Regions from separate parts of the Homo sapiens genome. Here all the other regions are linked to region 1. Evidence: promoter capture Hi-C in 16 types of primary human blood cells and fetal thymus (Javierre and others, 2016). All regions are on one chromosome and are shown on one strand. The core of a region is centred on a gene start or on the middle of the fragment in contact, and the rest is flanking DNA. Distances in the headings are between cores, read along the strand shown. Region 1 holds the start of SCFD2 (sec1 family domain containing 2). Region 2 overlaps PDGFRA (platelet derived growth factor receptor alpha). Region 3 has its middle 48 kb from the start of PDGFRA.

What was found. The method cuts DNA at HindIII sites, captures the fragments that hold promoters and counts their contacts. A CHiCAGO score of 5 or more calls a contact.
Region 2: a fragment that was not itself captured here is called in contact with the fragment with the promoter of SCFD2 in region 1 in 1 of 17 cell types (neutrophils); the score reaches 5.5 in neutrophils.
Region 3: a fragment that was not itself captured here is called in contact with the fragment with the promoter of SCFD2 in region 1 in 1 of 17 cell types (neutrophils); the score reaches 5.6 in neutrophils.

Annotation. Positions count from the first base shown.
Region 1 is chr4:53,363,201-53,368,104 of GRCh38, reverse strand. It overlaps SCFD2 (sec1 family domain containing 2), which reads left to right and starts at 2,044. Exons shown (of 9, transcript NM_152540.4): 1 at 2,044-3,001. The coding sequence starts at 2,164. RefSeq lists enhancers at 2,079-2,128, 2,149-2,348, 2,569-2,618. The HindIII fragment of the contact is 6,997 bases long and covers 1,364-4,904 here.
Region 2 is chr4:54,254,413-54,259,316 of GRCh38, reverse strand. PDGFRA (platelet derived growth factor receptor alpha) reads right to left here. Exons shown (of 23, transcript NM_006206.6): 2 at 500-560. The coding sequence starts at 548. Among named protein-coding and RNA genes, the nearest start is that of PDGFRA, 28 kb to the right of the region's middle. RefSeq lists a silencer at 2,650-2,876. The HindIII fragment of the contact is 3,584 bases long and covers 448-4,031 here.
Region 3 is chr4:54,178,921-54,183,824 of GRCh38, reverse strand. No RefSeq gene overlaps it. Among named protein-coding and RNA genes, the nearest start is that of PDGFRA, 48 kb to the left of the region's middle. The HindIII fragment of the contact is 7,036 bases long and covers 1-4,904 here.

The DNA.
Region 1 (4,904 bases), core at 795-3,294:
GCTCTTGCTGATCTAGCCCATTTCTTTCTTTTCTAATTCCTTGCTCTTATTTCTTCTTGCGCCTTTTTTCATACAATGCACTCCAGCTATAGGAAACCCTTTGTAGTTCCAGAGAACATATTGTACTGTTTTATGCCTCTACGACTTTGTTTATGCTGCACTCTGTGCCTGGACTGCTAAGAATCCTCCTCCCCATCCTGTCCACCTGGTGAACACCTGGGTTTCTTTGAAGGCAAGTCAAAACTCATGCCCTATATGAAGCTTTTTCTGACTTCTTCCTTTTTCTCTTAGAATTTATTTTTCCTCCTTCTTGACTCCTATACAAAAAATTTTAAAAAGTATTTGCTTCTGTAACATTTTATTGCACTTGTTTTACATGTGTGGGTCCCTTTATTTCATCATAATTATTTTGAAATCAGGGCTGTGGTTTAGTTTTCTTTATATCCTTAAAACCCAGACAGTGTTTGGAATACTGTACGTATTTATTAAAAATTGGCTGGATATATTATTATGTGGAATTTTTTTTTTTTTTGAGACAGAGTCTCGCTCTGTCGCCCAGGCTGGAGTGCAGTGGTGCCATCTTGGCTCACTGCAACCTCTCCCTCCTGGGTTCAAGTGATTCTCCTGCCTCAACCTCCCGAGTAGCTGGGATTACAGGTACCTGCCACCATGTCCAGCTATTTTTTGTACTTTTAGTAGAGACGGAGCTTCACCATGTTGGCCAAGCTGGTCTTGAGCCCCTGACCTCAGGTGATCTGCCCACCTCGGCCTCCCAAAGTGTTGGGATTACAGGCATGAGCCACCGCGCCTGGCCATGGATATTAATTGAACATTCATTCAACGAACATTTATTGAACACCTGTTATAAGTGTTGGGGATACCAAGCATCTAGTGCATAATTTAGCAAAACAGATAGTTTAAAGAAAATAGTGTTAATACTTACCCCATGATATGGCAAGTACTTAGCGAATGTATCAATTGAGTGGTTTGATAGGTGGGGGAAGTGAGAGGTGATAGGGTGATAGTGGTGGTGAGTTAGAAAAAGTCTCTCACAGGCAGTACTGTTGGAATGATTATTTTCGGTAAGTTTACCAGGTAAATTCTTTGTGGATTAGGTAATGAATTTTATTAACCATTGCATCTTTGAAGCTTAGCACAGAGATTATACTTAGTAATGTAAGTATATTGGTGGAACAAACAGAACCCATAAAACATTTTGGGTTCAGCCTATTGACTTCATTGTATCGGTACAATTTTTCTCCATGTTGGGAATAGCTGGAGAGAAATTGAGAAATCAAGAAGGATGTTGATGCTTTTTAAAGAGTGTGGATGTATCCTATAGGCAACTGGGCTAGGAGAAGCTTTTAAGCAGGAAAGTTGTAGGACCAACTTTGTTTATTAGGAAGAAAATAGAATTGGAGGGTAAAGAGATCAAAAGTCAGAAAATGTTGGGAGATCATTGCCTGGGTGAGCGATGATGTTGGGTTTTTGTGACAGCAAAAATGGAGAGGAAGGGCTGAATTCTGAGAGTTTTTAAGCCTATAAGATGTAGTGACGATGAGATGAGGGAGGAAAGATGGAGAAAGTGAAAATGAGAACAACAGGGTTTGTTATGAGGCTTGTGGGCGATAACGTATGTGACAGCAATCTATAAACCCAAAATATTGCACACGGTTGTTTTTATTATCTTTTTCTAGTTGCTCTGAGTTTAGATTGAGAAGGTGGCTGTACTTTTGGAGACGTGTTCATATCTAAGGAAGATACCAAATTTCGGATTAGGTTTTTATTTCGGAGACTTTTCAAGGAACATGAGAAGATTATCTGAGAAGATTATCTGCGCAGACAGGCCGAGCGACGGAAAGAACTCAGTTCAGCTCCATCTCAGGAAACACCTGATCTCCACGAGCTTTTGAGGAAGCCCGGAGCCACAGAGCCCCACCCACTTCTTTCCCGACCGCGCCATCCTTCCTCACTCCCGGCCTCCTCTCTAGCCAATCACCGCTCAGTTTAACGTCATCACCGAGCGCCATCAGGGAGCGTGTCAGAGGCCGACCACGTGTACTGTGGAGACTGTCAAAGTCTCCCGGAGCCCAATTTCCGGAAGCGGTGAGTTCTGAAAGAAGTTCCTGCACCGTAGTTTCCCAAGTCTGCGAATCCCCAACCATGAGCGCCTCGGGCGTACTGTCCTTTACCCAGCAAGGATGGGAGCAGGTGCTGGCCAAAGTGAAACGGGCTGTGGTTTACCTGGACGCCGCCTGCGCCGAGAGCCTGCACTGGGGCTGCGGATCCACCCGTCTCCTGGAGGCGGTGGGGGGTCCTGACTGTCACCTGCGAGAGTTCGAGCCCGACGCAATTGGTGGTGGAGCCAAGCAGCCCAAGGCAGTGTTTGTGCTGAGCTGCCTGCTGAAAGGCCGGACCGTGGAGATCCTACGGGACATCATCTGCCGCAGTCACTTCCAGTATTGTGTGGTGGTCACAACCGTGAGCCACGCTGTCCACCTCACAGCTAATCATGTCCCAGCGGCGGCAGCGGCCGAGATGGAGGGGCAGCAGCCGGTGTTCGAGCAGCTGGAGGAGAAGCTGTGTGAATGGATGGGCAACATGAACTACACGGCCGAGGTGTTCCATGTCCCGTTATTGCTTGCCCCTGTTGCTCCCCACTTTGCCTTGACTCCAGCTTTTGCATCCCTTTTCCCACTGCTACCCCAGGATGTGCACCTCCTTAATAGCGCCCGACCGGACAAGAGGAAGCTGGGAAGCCTGGGTGATGTGGACTCCACTACGCTAACCCCAGAGCTGCTGCTGCAGATCAGATGCCTAGTGTCAGGCCTCAGTTCTCTGTGTGAACATTTAGGAGTACGGGAGGAGTGTTTTGCTGTAGGTTCCTTAAGTCAGGTCATCGCTGCGGATCTGGCCAATTATGCCCCTGCAAAGAACAGGAAGAAGACTGCTGCAGGCAGGGCATCAGTGGTTTTTGTGGACAGAACCCTGGATCTCACAGGTAAGTGCATTGCTCTGGAGTTCTTCATTACCATTCCCCACATTGCTGGGACTTTCATTGATTCAGCATATATTTTATTGACCTTTTATTATATATTAGATTGAGGATACAAAGATGAACTAGATGGACACGGTCTCTAATCTCACAGAGTTTATTGTCTAAAGTGGAATACAGACAGGTGAATTAGCAATTACAATAACATTTGTTAAATGCTGTAATGGGTAGAAATGTCATAAATGCCCATTGCCTTGTTAAACAACAACTTTAGCCCAAGATTATGCTGACAGGGAGGAAAACTGTGCACCTGGGAAATTTTATTTTTAGAAATTTACGAATGCCAGTATTCACAACAGTCCTTCATAAGAAGACTCTGGTTTGTTGGAGAAGTGTTAATAGATGACCCAGCGGAAGGAAAACTACTGCACAAGAAAACATAAAATTATTACAGACAATTGAGGTTTAGGAAATGAGTGTTCAAAAGTGAGGCTGAACTTAAATGTTACTAGTAAATGAGATGAAATAGAATTGTAGAAAATATTTTCAAATGTTTATTGATTTATTTTTAGCTCTCATTGTATTAAAGATTAAGTAAATAATCTCAAATTGTAATAATGTATTATTTACACAAAAGAAACAAATGTAATCCTTAAAGCAGATGAAGAAAAGACACTTTCTGATGTTTGATATGTTATTTTCAAAGGTCAACTTTATTGTTCTCTAATTAGGTTGTATAATACTGTTAGTAATATAGCCTAGCCACTTCCAAGTCCAGGGAGAATAATCGGAAAACTGACATTGGTAGGCATTCCCTTTAATCGGTCAGAAAAAAAGTTGAATTAAGTTATAAAAAACGAAATAGGTATATTTGAGTTTTTAATCTTAATAAGATTAATTTTCAGATAAAAAATGGAAAGTAGGCTAAATGGTAATACTGAGATGTAAACTTAATTATGTGACTGGAAAAACCAGGTGTCCAGTCTGTGATTTAAATATATAAGTAATAACTGTAGCATCACAGAGTCCATAGGGGATTAAAAGATAAAACCTGATAAGTAGATGCTTGTTGAGTTTTTTTGTGGATGCTATATATTACTGTTACTTCTATCTCTTTATGCCAAAAATGTAGCAAAGTTGTTTCATAATCAACTGGGAAGTTCACATAATTTTGTACCCTCCCCTAAGACTTCTGTTAGGCAAAACTTAATATCCCACTGTCCAGCATCATAGTAACAGCTCTTTACATCTTCAGTAGGTAATGCTTTTTTTTTTTTTTTTTTGAGACGGAGTCTCTCTCTGTCGCCCAGGCTGGAGTGCAATGGCGCAATCTCGCGAGGCTCACTGCAAGCTCCGCCTCCCGGGTTCACGCCATTCTCCTGCCTCAACCTCCCGAGTAGCTGGGACTACAGGCGCCCGCCACTACGCCGGGCTAACTTTTCGTATTTTTAGTAGAGACGGGGTTTCACCGTGGTCTCGATCTCCTGACCTCGCGTGATCCACCCGCCTCGGCCTCCCAAAGTGCTGGGATTACAGGCGTGAGCCACCGCGCCCTTTTTTTAAACATACAGAATAAATAAGGTGAGCATAACTTCTGCCCTCTAAAAGTTTACAATATAATGTAGTCAAGTATCAATATAACGTAGTCAAGTATGATTTAGAGCCCGGCACAGTGGCTCATGCCTGTAATCCCATCACTTTGGGAGGCTGAGGGGGGCAGACTGCTTGAGCTCAGGAGTTTGAGATCAACCTGGGCAACACAGCAAAACTCAATCTCTACAGAAAATTTAAAAATTAAATAAAAAATGAAAAAACTAGCCAGGTGTGGTGACCTGTAGTCCCAGCCACTCAGGAGGCTAAGGTGGAGGATAACTTGAGCCCAGAAGGCAGAGGTTGCAGTGAACCACCA
Region 2 (4,904 bases), core at 990-3,489, 890 kb before region 1:
TTTTAAATGAGGTCTTGCTATGTTGCTGGAGTGTGGTGGCTAGTCACAGGCATAATCACAGTGCACTGCAACCTTGAACTCCTGGCCTTAAGGGATCATCCCACCTCAGCTGCTCAAGGGGCTGGGACAACAGATGTGCCACCTCCCACAGCTGACCATTCCTGAATTTATCTAATCCAGCTCTAATAGAAGCCTTGTCCTAGGAAAAGGAAGAGAGTAGTAAGTAAATTTAGACATTATTACTAACAACATTTCAATGCCAACATTATATATGTACTAAAACTGCCACTGGAGAGCATTCCTTTTGAAATGGAGTAAGTGCAATACAGCAAAGGGAACTGAAGGTTTGTGGTCATTCTGGATAACGTCCTATAGTTTTCTATTTCTTTTCACTCTTTTGGACTGTGTATGCAGAGTACTGGTAATAAACCCATGCAGCACAAAGCTTAAAAAAACAAGACACCCAAACAAGGAACTCAGAGAGGACTGGGCTCCGTACCTGTGAGAAGACAGCCTAAGACCAGGAACGCCGGATGGGAAGTCCCCATAGCTCTGGGAAACTAGAAAAGTCAAAAGTCAACAGAAACAGCATTAGCAAATAGAAACAACCCTGGAGCCTAGTTCTCTTTGTGTTTTGCACAACAGAAAATATTAACAGCATCATTTTAGTCAAACATGTCCCAGGTTAAAATTCAAGGTTCAAACAGTAAGACGCCTGAAAGATGAAAGAATCAATGGGGCCCCAAGATCATGGCGGGAGCTGCCTGAAGCCAAAACCTTCTGTGATTGCATGCAGTTTTCAATGGTCCTTTAAACCATTTATATTAAGAATTCAAACAACAAAGAAATAAATACATATATATATATTTTTTCTCAGCTTCCAAACTAGAGCTGATTTTCACGTTTCAATTAATAAAGAGGTCACACTCTCTACAACTTTTAGAAAAGTTGCTTGGGTTGGGGTAAATACCTTAATATTTCAGTGCCATTTTGACCTAGAATTTCTGAAACTTCCAACAATGTGTGTCATTTACAGGAGGCCTTTGTGATACTGAGGCACATACCAGGCTCAGACCTGGGCACCCAGCCGGGGTTCTTGCAGGAACCCTTGGAGAACCTGCTGGATCCCAAGCCAGGCTAAACAGGGCATGGAAAAGCAGGTACAAGCATGAAAGGAGGAGCAATAGAGAAAGTGAAGAAGGGAGAGAAAGTGGGAGAGATAAGTGTGACTAAATTCCTGTGCAGGGGGTAGGAGGGATGCAGTAGACTCTAGGATGAAATTAGAAGGAGGCTGATCATTCATTTTCATGTTAAAGTAAAAGCACCCGTGCAAACCAAGTTCAAGAACTTTCTAATTTTCTACAGCCAAATCTGGGAATGAAGAAGTAGAGAAAGAGACGGAAATTGAGTCAGACACAAATAAGGCAAAAAGTGGGCAAAAAGTGGGAAGGGAAAAGAAAATTAAAAGAGAAAGAAACTAAAAGGGGGCTCCTGTTGCCCTGGGGTAAAACCACTGAAGGGACTATTCTGGCAAACTGTGAAAAGACCTCTCTTCTTTATCTCTTCCCCATTCACTTTATTTTATCTCCCCCCTCATTTCTCCCTTGAAGTCACTGATAGTGGTCACTGGTGAAGTCAGTGAGAAGGAACTGTGAATGAACTTGTAGGTGCTAGGGCCAGTAAGTACCCAGGTATTGACTCAAGAAGCCACACTGAGGGGCCTGGGCAGAGCCCCCAGTTTTAACATAACCCCCCAAAAATCACCATGTTAGTCTTGGCCTGGGATGCACCAGATCCCTAAGTTGCTCCTAATGTCACATGGTGAATCCCAAAATTGGAGATCACCATGGGAGGCCACATGGGTTCTTGGCTTTACCCAGGAAGGAATTCAAGCAAATTTATTAAGAAAATAAAGGAATAAAAAAGGGTGGCTACTCCATAGGCAGAACAGCCACGCTGCTTAACTGAGTATACTTATGGTTATTTCTTGATTATATGCTAAACTAAGGGTGCATTATTCATGATTTTCCCAGAAACAGGGAGGAAATTCCCAGAACTGAAGGTTCCTTCCTTTTTCCACCATATAGGGTAACTTCCTGTCATTAATACAACATTTGTAAACTGTCATGGTGCTGGTGGTATCTTTTAGCATGCTAATGCATTATAATTAGCATATAATGGGTAGTGAGGATGACCAGAGGTCACTTTCATCACCGTCTTGGTTTTGGTGGGTTTCGGCTTCCTTCTTCATTGCATCCTAGGTTTTTGGGGTTTTTTAATTTGTTTATGAAACAGGGTCTTGCACTGTTGCCCAGGCTGGAGTGTACTGGCACAATCATAGTTCACTGTATCCTTGAACTCCTGGGCTCAAGCAATCCTCCCACCTGAGCTGACCCCCATGCCTAGCCCAAGAGCTGGGACTACAGGCCTGCACCACCACACTCAGCTCATTTTTAAAAAATTATTTGTAGAGATGAGGTCTCACTATGTTGTCCAGGCTAGTCTTGAACTCCTAGGCTTAAGCAATCCTCCTGCCTTGGCCTCCCAAAGTGCTGGGATTACAGGCATAAACCACCACACCCGGCCCGCATCCTGGGGTCTTTATCACCCGTATCTTGTGAAACCACCACACCCAGCTCATTTTTTAAAAATCATTTGTAAGGCAAATCGCTTGAACCAGGGAGGCAGAGGCTGCAGTGAGCTGAGATCGCACCATTGCACTCCAGTGTGGGCGACAGACTGAGATTCCATTTCAAAAAAAAAAAAAATTATTTGTAGAGGCTGGGCACGGTGGTTCATGCCTGTAATCGCAGCACTTTGGGAGGCCAAGGCAGGTGGATCACCTGAGGTCAGGAGTTCGAGACCAGCCTGGCCAACATGGTGAAACCCCATCTCTACTAAAAACACAAAAAAATTAGCCAGGCGTGGTGGTGTGCGCCTCTAATTCCAGCTACTCAGGAGGCTGAGACAGGAGAATCGCTTGAACCCCTGAGGTAGAAGTTGCAGTGAGCCAAGGTCATGCCACTGCACGCCAGCCTGGGCGGCAGAGCAAGACTCCATCACAAAAAAATAAAATAAAATAAAATAAAAATTATCTGTAGAGATGAGGTCTCACTATGTTGCCCAAGCTGGTCTTGAACTCCTAGGATTAAGCAATCCTCCTGCGTTGGCCTCCCAAAGTACTGGGATTACAGGCATAAGGCACCACACCCAGCTTGCATCCTGTGGTCTTTATGAAACCATTCCTACCCAACTCCTATCTCATCCTGTGACTACAAATGCCTAACCTCCTGGGAATGCAGCCCAGCAGGCCTCATCCTCTTCTTACCTAGCCCATATTCAAGATGAAGTCACTCTAGTTTGACCTCCTCTGATGCTAACTCATGCAATGGAGTGGGCCTAATAGGACTCAATTTGTTCCATCACTGACTTTGGAAGCTAAAATACGTATACATAATTACTGAATAAACTGTTTGTTGTTGTTGTTGTTGTTGTTTTAAAAAAAAAAGGAGGGAAGGGCGCAGTGGCTCACGCCTGTAATCCCAGCACTTTGGGAGGCTGAGGCGGGCAGATCATGAGATCAGGAGATGGAGACCATCCTGGCTAACACGGTGAAACCCTGTCTCTACTAAAAATACAAAAAATTAGCCGGGCGTGGTGGCAGGCACCTGTAGTCCCCGCTACTCAGGAGGCTGAGGCAGGAGAATGGCGTGAACCCAGGAGGTGGAGCTTGCAGTGAGCCAAGATCGCGCCACTGCACTCCAGCCTGGGTGACAGAGCAAGACTCTGTCTCAAAAAAAAAAAAAAAAAGAAAGGGGAGAAATTCAGCGTTTTCTTGTATTCCTGTATTTAGCCTGAGTTGGGTTTGGGTTGGTTAAACAGGATCCAGTAGATAATAGCCTAATTTGGTGGTGCCTGATCATGTATTTTGCTCTAAGGTGGCCTACATTGCAGAAATCAGAATTCTGCTTTATTGAATGCCACCAGGAAAATGGGAGAGGAAGAAAACACAGAGTGAAAGGTAGCAAGCTTCTAATGGGAAAGGGAGGTGGAGTAGATAGAACAAAAAGAAATCATTATTTACTAAGCCAAAGTTTGCATGTGCATGCTGTGTTTCTGAAGAATAACCCTGTGGTTACTTAGAGCTGATTTTAAGAAGGGGCAGTTGAGGCTCAGAGAGGTTTCGCAAATGACCCAAGGTCACACAGCTGGTGTCAGAGCCAAAATTCTAATACAAGGCCTGTGTGATGCAAAAGCTGTGCCCTCTCCACTTCACCATATGGTCTCTCTCAAGGGAAGGTCAGTGTTTTAGCCATGTCGCACCGCCCCCCACCCGGCCCAGTGCCTGTCCCTCCCCCACAATTTCCTAGGGCAAATTACACAACCCTCCCTTCCCTTTTCCCTCTCTGCTCCTCATAGCAGGAGAAGGACAATTACAGTGCTGTGAACCCAAATGCAATTCACACAATGCTGGCTGGCTGATCGCTTCTGAGGAGCCCGGCATGTGCCTGGGATGCAGGGCTGGTGTTAGGCACAGTGGGATCCAGAGCCAGGCTGGCCAGCCTGATTTACCACAATTAGCAGTAACACTTGTGTGCTTCTACATGTAAATATCAGCCTCCCACTGACAATCCACTCAGCAAACTTCAAAGGAGACCTCCAGAGCCAGCTTGATGTCGTCGTGGCTTTTATCACATTTAGATCCCGTATTTCTTTGGCAAGGCTTGCCAATGATGCATCTTTAAAGCATTCTCGAGCTTAAAAGAAGGGTTCACTGCTTTTCCTGCAAAACCTGAGGAGTGTTTTTCACTGGCCAGACCCCACCAGATTTCCCTGTGTGCATCCAGACATGGTGGACCCACTGCCAGGGAAGATTATTTACTGACATATAAAGTGGGCAATGA
Region 3 (4,904 bases), core at 1,005-3,504, 820 kb before region 1:
AAAATAAAAGAAATTAAATTTAAATTAAAAAAAAGTAAATACAGGCATGAGCCACTGCGTCCAGCCCAATTTGTGTTTAGTATTTTTAATTAAGCCCCCCAGTAAATGTTGAAAGGTTGTGGGAGTTGGGAAACCAGTTAGGAGACTATTGAATAGTTCAGGACAGGTGATTTTTGGCTTTTCCTAGAGGGTGACGGCCAGGGAACAGAGAGAAGTAACAAAGACAAGAGATGTTTAGCATGTAGAATTGAGAGGATTTAGTGTTTGATTAGATTTGAAGAATTAAAAAGGTGCAAGAGACCAGCATAATTTCGAAATTTCTGGCATGAGCACCTAGATAAGTGGTGACAACTATGGGAGTAGGAAAGGGGAACGTGGAAAGGCTGAGATGAGGATGTCCAATGGAAAAAATGGATGTTGGGACTTGAAACTTAGAGGAGAAGTCTCAGCTGGAGCCTTGGATTTAGGAGTCATTGGCATTTAAAAGGTATTTTAGCCAGATGTGGTGGTGCACCTTGCCGTCCCAGTGACTCTAGAAGCCAAGGGGCAAGAGGATCACTTGAGCCTAGGAGTTTGAGACCAGCCTGAGCAACATAGTGAGGCCTCATCTTTTTTTTTTTTTTTTTTTTTTTTAAAAAAAAAGTCTGGGCACGGTGGCTCATGCCTGTAATCCCAGCACTTCGGGAAGCCGAGGCGGGTGGATCACCTGAGGTCTGGAGTTCGAGGCCAGTCTGGCCAACATGATGAAACCCCTTCTCTACTAAAAATACAAAAAATTAGCTGGGTGTAGTGGCAGGCACCTGTAATCCCAGCTACTCAGGAAGTTGAGGCAGGAGAATCTCTTGAACCTGGGGGGCAGAGGTTGCAGCGATCTGAGATCGTGCCACTGCACTCCAGCCTGGGTAACAAGAGCAAAACTCCGTCTCAAAAAAAAAAAAAAAAAAAAAAAAAAGCAAGTGCGATGGCTCACGCCTGTAATGTCAGCATTTTGGGAGGCCAAGGTGGGCAGATCACTTGAGGTCAGAAGTTTGAGACCAGCCTGGCCAACATGGTGAAACCCTGTCTCTACTAAAAATACAAAAAATTAGCTGGTGGTGGCATGCACCTGTAATCCTAGCTACTCAGGAGGCTGAGGCAGGAGAATTGCTTGAACTGGGGAGGCGGAGATTGCAGTGATCTGAGATCGCGCCACTGCACTCCAGCCTGGATGAAAAGAGCAAAGAGCGAAACTTCGTCTCAAAAAAAAAAAAAAAAAAAAAGAAAAGAAAAAGAAAGTAAAGACAAAAAGGGGGAATTTTAAGTCATAGGAATAGATGAGAGATGTCCAGAAAATGTGATGTATGTCAACTCAGAAGAAAGCAATACTAGAATACAAACGTGAAAAAGTCCAACATTTAATATTTGAGTAGAGAAGAACAATCTGAATGCTGTATTACAGACACTAGGGAAAAGAACGTCTTAGTAGAGAGCCATCAACAATGCTAAACACTAATGAGCTGTCAAATAAGAAAAAGTTGGCCGGTGCGGTGGCTCATGCCTGTAATCCCAGGCGTGGGAGGCCGAGGCAGGCAGATCATCTGAGGTCGGGAGTTCAAGACCAGCCTGACCAACATGGAGAAACCCCGTCTCTACTAAAAGTACAAAATTAGCCATGCCTGGTGGCACATGCCTGTAATCCCAGCTACTCAGGAAGGCTGAGGCAGGAGAATCGCCTGAACCTGGGAGGTGGAGGTTGCAGTGAGCCGAGATCGCGCCATTGAACTCCAGCCTAGGCAACAAGAATTAAACTCCATCTCAAAAAAAAAAAAGAATAAGAAAAAGTGAAAAGATATTTTCTGACTTACCAACATTGAATGGAGATCATGGGAAGCCTTAAGAATGGCTGGGAAACACGGAGGTGGGCCTGGAATGTCAAAATAAGATGTTTGTTTTTAGTACAGTCCAGTCAGCACTGGAGACCCACTGAAGGTCTTTGAGCAAGGAGATATGACTGTAGATGTGCTTAAGAGATATTAACCCATGGGCTGGCGCAGTGGCTTACGCCTGTAATCCCAGCACTTTGGGAGGCCGAGGCGGGTGGATCACGAGGTCAGGAGTTCAAGACCAGCCTGGCCAATATGGTGAAACCTTCTCTCTACTAAAAATACAAAAATTAGCTGGAATTAGCTGGGCGTGGTGGTGCATGCCTGTAATCCCAGCTACTCAGGAGGCTGAGGCAGGGGAATTGCTTGAACCCGGGAGGCGGAGGTTGCAAGGAGCAGAGATTGCGTCACTGCACTCCAGCCTTGGTGACAGAGCGAGACTCTGTCTCAAAAAAAAAAAAAAAAAAAAAAAATAGATATTAACCCAGTAGGGAAGTAGAGATCTGAAGGTAAAGTCTTGAAATAGGGCCTGTAGTTAAGAGAGTGCAGTAGTCCAGGCAAGAGGAAAGAGGGCCTGAACTAGGGTGCTTGAGGCAAACCTGGAAACTAAGAGGTACAGATTGTTTCAGTGATCTTTCACTTGCAAGTGAGGAAAACAACTCAATTTGGTTTAAATAATAATAGAAATTTATCGGTCTCATCAGCAAAAACTCCAGAGGCAATGTTAACTTCAGGCAAGGCTGTATCTAGCAGCTCGAATAATGTTTCCAAGGACCCATTTTTTTTCTATATGTCTCTTTTCTGCCTTCTATGGTCTGGCTTTACCGTTAGACTCCACTTTGTGGCTCTCTGGCAACTCTAGGATCTCCTTTCCTCTGCTTATAGAAAAATGACTTCTGGCTGGGCCTGGTGGTTCACACGTGTAATCCCAGCACTTTGGGAGGCCGAGGTGGGCAGATCACCTGAGGTCAGGAGTTCAAGACCAGCCTGGCCAACATGGTGAAATCCCATCTCTACTAAAAAATACAGAAATTAGCTGGGCCTGGTGGTGCATGCCTGTAATCCCAGCTACTCAGGAGGCTGAGGCAGGAGGATCGCTTGAATCCAGGAGGCAGAGGTTGCAGTGAGCCGAAATCGTCCCCACTGCACTCCAGCCTGGGCGATACAGCAAGACTCAGTCAAAAAAAGAAAGAAAGAAAGAAAGAAAGAAAGAAAGAAAGCAAGCAAGCAGGGAGGGAAGGAAGGAAGGAAGGAAGGAAGGAAGGAAGGAAGGAAGGAAGGAAGGAAGGAAGGAAGGAAGGAAGGAAACTTCCATAATTCTAGTTATCATTTTTTTTTTTTTTTTTTGGTGACGGAGTCTCACTCTTTCGCCCAGGCTGGAGTGCCGTGGCGCAATCTCGGCTCACTGCAAGCTCCGCCTCCCGGGTTCACGCCATTCTCCTGCCTCAGCCTCCCCAGCAGCTGAGATTACAGGCACACGCCGCCAGGCCCGGCTAATTTTTGTATTTTTAGTAGAGATGGGGTTTCACTGCGTTAGCCAGGACGGTCTCGATCTCCTGACCTTGTGATCCGCCCGCCTCGGCCTCCCAAAGTGCTGGGATTACAGGCGTGAGCCACCGCGCCCGGCGCAATTCTAGTTCTCATACCATGCAGGGAAATTGCCCAGCTTTTCCACAACAGAAGGCCAACAAACATCTCCTGGCATCTTGTTGTCTCTGACTGTGCAGCATATCACCCCAGAACCAACACAAGTGACCATGGGACATAAGCCAATCAGAGCCCACCCCTGTCATTTGGAGTAAAGTTGGTTCCACCCAAATCACATGACCAGGAATGAGGGTTTTACACTGTGGAGGTTTTCACATTGTGGAGTAAAGGTAAAGGGAAAACTGGAAGATAGATGCCAGGGAAGTAACCAATAAATGATCATTACCAATATGAAACATAACTTTTCTTTTTATTCTTTTTTTTTTTTTTTTGAGACAGAGTCTTGGCTCTTGTCACCCAGGCTGGAGTGCAATGGCATGATTTTGGCTCACTGCAACCTCCACCTTCCGGGTTCAAGCGATTCTCCTGCCTCAGCCTCCCAAGTAGCTAGGATTACAGGCACCTGCCAGCACACTGGGCTAATTTTTTTGTACTTTTAGTAGAGACGGGGTTTCGCCATGTTGGCAAGGCTGGTGTAGAATTCCTGACCTCGTGATCTGCCCACCTCGGCCTCCCAAAGTTCTGGGATTATAGGCGTGAGCCACCACACCCGGTGAAAAGTAACTCTTCATTGCTTCACTCTTTGAAATTTTGTTTCAAGAACTTTCAGATAAATTTACTAATGGAGTTAATACAACTCAATTCAGTTATGGTAAAAGTATTCTAATTAAGATGAATTAGCTAGGAAATGAATTAACTTACAGATAAAGTAGTTGAGTGTTTTAGAAGAACATACAGCATGTGGAGCTAACTATTGAACAAGAAGAATTCATTTATAGGAAGGAAGAGTTTTGATAAAGAGATTAGCCTCATTTGTAATTATATTAAAAATATGCCAAAATAATTTAAAATAGATTATCCTCCTCAATAAGTTAATTGTATTTCTATACAAACCCCATGAGTTTTTCCTATTTTGTTTATTTAGAGCCTCCAATCTGCAAATCAAGATCTATCTGTAAATCCCAGCATCTTCTCTTTTGCACTATGTCCCTGCAACTATGCCTACCTCCCTACAGTTCAAGGACAGTAGCCAGAAGTTCCCAAAATCTTTTAGCAACTTTTGTATCACCCTCTCAATCCTAAGACAGGGAGAAATTAAAAGCCTCCTGCTGCAGGCAAACAGCTAAGTAAGGCTGCTTTGCTGATCTTGGCTTGCTGTCTTACTGCTCTAAGATGGCCTTTGCAAGGCTCTCCCCCATGTCATCTCTCCTCCTCCAGCAGAATAATCCAAGTTTATTTACATGGCAGTAGCAAGGCTCCACGAGGGAGAATGAGAAAGTACAAAACCTCTTGAGATCTAGTCTTGGAACTGGCATGCTGTTTCTTCTCCTGTAT